Linked DNA regions of Homo sapiens: region 1 is linked to region 2. The links are contacts of gene promoters, found by promoter capture Hi-C in human tissues and cell types (Jung and others, 2019). All regions are on one chromosome and are shown on one strand. The core of a region is centred on a gene start or on the middle of the fragment in contact, and the rest is flanking DNA. Distances in the headings are between cores, read along the strand shown.

What was found. Contacts are between HindIII fragments. The study calls those that stand out against the background at their distance.
Region 1: a contact is called between a fragment that was not itself captured here and the fragment with the promoter of DENND1A in region 2, in 7 of the 25 tissues and cell types used here (adrenal gland, aorta, dorsolateral prefrontal cortex and 4 more).

What each region holds. Positions count from the first base shown.
Region 1 is chr9:123,651,996-123,654,737 of GRCh38, forward strand. It overlaps DENND1A (DENN domain containing 1A), which reads right to left. Exons shown (of 24, transcript NM_001352964.2): 9 at 18-128. Among named protein-coding and RNA genes, the nearest start is that of MIR7150, 170 kb to the left of the region's middle. The HindIII fragment of the contact is 3,988 bases long and covers 1-2,742 here.
Region 2 is chr9:123,928,661-123,931,418 of GRCh38, forward strand. It overlaps DENND1A (DENN domain containing 1A), which reads right to left and starts at 1,466. Exons shown (of 24, transcript NM_001352964.2): 1 at 1,229-1,466. The coding sequence starts at 1,245. RefSeq lists enhancers at 323-402, 338-1,023, 653-852 and a silencer at 1,203-1,692. The HindIII fragment of the contact is 15,721 bases long and covers 1-2,758 here.

The sequences.
Region 1 (2,742 bases), core at 197-2,696, 280 kb before region 2:
TAAGACTGTCTACTCACAGTGCTGAGTTTGCTGCAAATGATGAGTATCCGGCGTTCGTACAGCATACTGGCGTACAGATGCAACATGTTGTTAACATCCACAGCCACAAAATATTCTGTCAGATTTCTCTAGGAGAAAGAAGAAGGCACGGTTTGTGGCTGATTTTCTTTGTTCTTATTATAACTGTATCTAATAAGAGCATAAGAAACATAAAATAATCAGAAAGTATACTCTGTTCTTTCCCTGTCCTTTTCTTTCTACCTGGGAGGCCAAATCCCCACATGTGTAAAATCATGAAGGGTAAAGTTGGAAGACACCTTACAGAGGAAGGAGCCTGAGCAATTACATCTTTGTGTGGTGATTACAACATGAGGTCGCATCCAGCACTTAGGTCAGTTCCTAAAGGTGAGCAGAACAGGAATTCTACATATCTTACAAATGAGGAAACCAAGACTCAAAGAGATTCTCCAAGATGGAACAGTCTAATAAGCAATGAAGACAGGACTGCTGCTCAAATCTTTGGGCCCCAGATCCTAGAACCTTCCCGATGTGCTGTGCCATACGCCTAAGCAAAAGAAAGTACCCAGGGACCAAAATGCTTCTGGCACTGAGCCTGTTTCTGTGCAGGAGATGCCACCCACGAAGGCCAGGCGAGCTCCTCTCCCGTCATCACTGCTGGTATCCCCTCCTTCACAGTTTACATTTGCTAAAACGGCTCAGCTGGAATTAAGGCAATTTCGAACATTTACAATTTCCAGGTATTTCACTCAAAAGGGGAAAAAAAATTGAAGACAAACAGCAGCAAGTTGTGACAAAGCAGTGTTTTAACTAGCTTTTTTCCACCCCTGTAGCCTGGGCTTCAGTCTTTTAATTAGTACTATAGATTGGTACTCTTCAGATTTCAGAAAAAAAATGGAATGTGTTTCATTTATACAACGCTTTCTATACCCACCTGACTTTAATAATACACATGAATATGCTAATTTCTTCAATGTTACAGGTTTTCAATGCCATACAATATAATCCTCTGAAAATGAAAGGGGTTTGGGAGGGAAGGAATGCTATTGCCAGGCGTTGCAGTTTATAATGATTAAAGATCTATAACCCATAAATTGAAGTAAACCAGGTGGATTTTACATGCAAAATAGCACAAAGTGCTTTTCAACAATATTATGGGCTGGGAGTAAAAATGGGCACTTATCTTATAATTTATTATTGTTTGACTGAAGTACCAAGTTAACCATCAACCTTTATAAATACAGAGCAAGTGAATTAACAGCTCTATATACTAACTACCTATCAAGTGCCAGCCACTGTACCAGACACTGTGGATGTGTAATTGTGCAGTCTTCACAAAAATCCAGTGAGGCGTTATTCTTTCCAATATAAAGTCTGGGAGAGGTCAGCAACTGGCAAAGTCAGATCTGACTCCATGGCCTATACGCTTTCCCGTACACAACACTGTCCCTCTTATGCACATCTATTGTTTGAAAGATTCACATCTATTATTAAACATGTCACTTAATCTTCAAACTGTTCCTTGAACTAAGTATTATTATCCCTCTACGAAGATGAGAAAACAGTGGCACAGAGAAGTTGTGTAATTTGACAAAGGTCACGCAGTAAGTGGATGTGACATGATTCAGTCCTGAGTGGGTCTGTCTCTAAATCCATGCTCTTTTTATTCCACACAAAATTGTAGGTAAAACTCATATTTGGAAAAAGAAACGCAACAAGATCAAGTATGCCTAAAGAAAGGAAAATGCTTCTGTTAAAAATTACCGTTACCCCATTCACGGAGTGATCTGTATGTGGCAGGCAACAGGTGCTTTTCCTGTGTTCTTTCCAATCTTCCCAACAAGCTTGAGACAGGCATTATCATCTCCATTATATAGATGAGAAATAAAAAAAAAAAAACTGGAGGCTCAGGAAGTCTCAGTAGACTTCTAAAGGTCACCCAGCTAGAAAGGGGAGAGCCATGTTTCAAAACTAGATCTCCTCAATCCAAAACTCATACCCTAACCACCACACCAACTTGCCTCTTAACAAACTCAGTGAAAAACAAAACAGCAAACACCAAAGGCAGTCGGAAGGAGTCAACCAGTGTATCTTGGTTCCTCCACTGGACGGAGGAACACAGAGCTAATGATGTAAGGGTGGGGTTTGCTCTGAAGACGGTGACATGGCACAGCTCTCCTCACAAACAAAAATATGAGGCCCTTCACTGAGCATTTCAGTAAAAAGCTTAACTGCTGATGAATTACATGAATTTTTCTTTTAGGAGAGGATGGAAGTAAAAAGAAAATAGAAATGAGGAGCTTAAAGAAGGCCAGAAAGCCCATTAGCACTTTTGACAGATCCAAAGATAACTCTGAAGCCACCAAAACGTGGCCTCAAGAGTCTGCCAAGAAGCTTCACGCTGGGGAGAAATATGTTACACAGCTTGCCGTCCAAATAGGGAGACACAGCGTCAGAGACAAATCCTGCGCCTTATTTTGGTGGGAGAAAAAAAAATCACAAGGATACTTTTGTGGATGGGAAGGAAACATTTCTGAAATAAAAACACCATTTGATTGAGGCATGTCCCCCATCTCCAATCAGATTCTGAGGGACTCAGGTGCTTGTTCCAAAAACTCTACACAGGTATGTTAAAAATACGTAACATTTAGCCAAATTCTCTCTAAACTGTCATGTACTTTTTTTGGTATTTCTCATCCCATCTGTGCTGATTACCAAGATATT
Region 2 (2,758 bases), core at 216-2,715:
ATTTTGTAAATGAGAAGCCTAACCACACGGGGGACTGCAAGGCTGGGCAAGGGTCACACTGCACGGGCATCACCTGGACATGAGATGCAATGTTTGAATAATTATTAGTTTCACCCTTAAGGCCCTTCTCCTTTCAAACTTCCCTAGTACAATTCTCAAAATGCTGAAATAAACACATTCCACAAACTTTCTTGTAAGAGGGTTTAAAGTGTCCTAGGAAAGTTGTTTTACAGAAAAGCCTATGCTGTCAACTTTGCTTTTTAATGCCCTTAAACAATTCTATTAGTCACAGAGGAAAAAGTGAACATTTGTTAGTAATTAGAGATAAAACATCTCCAGTTCTGGGGCAGAGGAAGGGAGAGGCCACAAGAGGACCTGGCTGGGAGGGGAGATAGAGTCGAAAGCCACACACCCAAATTGGACCGCTTAAGAGTTGCACTTTCCAAAGTCAACTTCTAAGTCTACAAGGACAGCAACAATGTTTCAGTGGATTCTGAAGTTACATGTATCAACAATTTCCCCGGAAAGCTAACCCTCCACCGGGAACTCCAGGTGAATGAATGAGTGAGGGAATTCGCCAGATTGAGTTACAAAGCCTTTCCAACGATTATCAAGAGCAGGTGCTCGGTTACAACACAGAGGTATCCTCCTTCACAGCCTTTGGACCTTGCTGCGTGGAGATTTTCACAGATAAGAGGGGGGAAATAGAGAGACAGGCCTTCCTCCCCGGCCATCCACACCTTAGGTGGCCACACCATGAGCGGCCCCTCCCTCTAAGAACCTCACGCGACTTCTGTGGGGGCCGCAGGCCTCAAGCGGCCAGGCTGCAACCTCTCCGGACCTGCCAACTTTCAGGGGCGCCCCAAACATGCCCAAACATGGGGAGGTGCTTCCGGGGCTTTCCCACTCCCCTTCCCCACAGTTGAAGGACCATTTTCAGGGGCTCTCCGTAAACCCGGGGAGGGGGCCGCCCTGTAATCTCAGCTGTTCCGACCCCCAGGTGAGGAGGGGACACCTGACCCCCGGCGCCCTGCCACCCCGCGCGCACCCCGCCCCCGCGCCTCCCTGGATCGCCATAGCAACCGTCCCCCTCCCCGCGTGCCGGCGTCACGCGGGGCGCCCCTCTGGTCTCGGCAACAAGTCCCCCGCGCGGCCCGCGGCCTGCAGCCCTGGCCCGGCCTCGCCGCCCCGCGCCCGGCCCGGCTCCGCCCGGCCCGGCCGCACTCACTTGATCCTGGAGCCCATGGTCCCCAGGCCTCCTCATGGGCCCGCGGGCCCCGCTCGGCGCTGCGCTGCCCGCCCGCCCGCGGCCGACCGGCCTCCCTCTGGCGCTCTCCCCGCCCCTTCCTCCCTTCCCTCAGGCTGGGGCCCGCCCGCTCGAGGCTCGCTCCCTCGCCGCCGCCGCCGCCTCCAGGGGTTAATGTACTCGCTCCAGCCCGGCGAACGCCATGGTCGCCGGCGCGCGTGCCCGGCGCGCGCCGCCCCCTCCGCCTCTCACCACCGCCCCTCCCGCCCGCGCTGCCGCCGCCGCTGCCCGCTGGGGCTGCTGGGAAGTGTAGTCCGCTCGCGGGGGCGGGGCCGTGGCCGGTGGGGGCGGGGCGGGAGCGCGGTCACCCGCACGTCTCCCAGGGCGCGGGCCCCGGAGGACTCTGGCGTTCCGTTGCAGGCCCTTACACATCTGCACCCCACTGCGCCCCGCTGGAAACCTCCACTCACAGCCGCCCTGAAGAGACCCTAATCCTCTCATGGAGACCCCAAGCCCTCCCGATGAAACCGCCACCAATCCTCCCATTGGAGGCCTCCCACCCAGCCTCTCTAACGGAGAGCTAATCCCCCGCCCAGGCCTCCATGAAAACACGTTTTCCCTTTAACATCCCGCACCTTCCAGTAAGTTCCGTGCAGAACCTCTTCTCCATCACACCGTCCACTTCCCCATCTGAAGGCCTTTCCTCTTCCTTTCCCCTTAGAGCTTGAAGGAGACCCCACATACCTACAGGAAAGCCACCTGGGGGCTTCGTGGACCCACGTGGTGGCTCAGCTCTGCCCTCCCGCTGAGGACCTCTGCCTCCCTTTATCAGCCGTTTTGGGAACTCCAACATCGAAGCCTCCTGTTAACACAACAGTCCCTGATAGAGATTAACTCAATGCAAATGAAAGGATTTGAGAGCCGAGATCACCAGCCTGCTACCTACCCCTGCTCCCCCTTGGGATTCACTTCCATGAACACCTCAATTTCATCCCCTCTAGGGCCAGAGGGATCATAAAGGAAGCAATAATCACAGCTACCATTAGCCACCCTTTAATGAGCGGGTGAGTGCCCTTTCTGCATCAGACACAGTATTTCCGTACATCATTAGTGCCAATCCTCACAATAATCCTGTGTTCATCTCCCTAATTTACAAAGAGGAAACTGAGCCACATTCCCAAGGTCACATAACTAGCAACGAGTGAAGAAGCCAAGATTAGTGTCCAGACTGAATCATTCCAGACACCTGTGACATAGTCATGCTTTAAGGTGGCACCTTTGGCCACAAGTCCAAAGACATTTTTAATATTAGGCTTTTTTTCCTTTTTTTTTTTTTTTTTCCAATTTTCTGTCCCGAAATGCCATTCATCACTTCTGCCATTTTAGTTCTTATAAATGCATGGAGTGCCTCCCCACCCTACCCCCACCCCATAGCCTCTACGTAACTGGTCCTGCGTCCTAGCTCCCGGCCAGGATGGGAGGAAAGAAAGCCAGAAGATAAGTCGTAGAAGA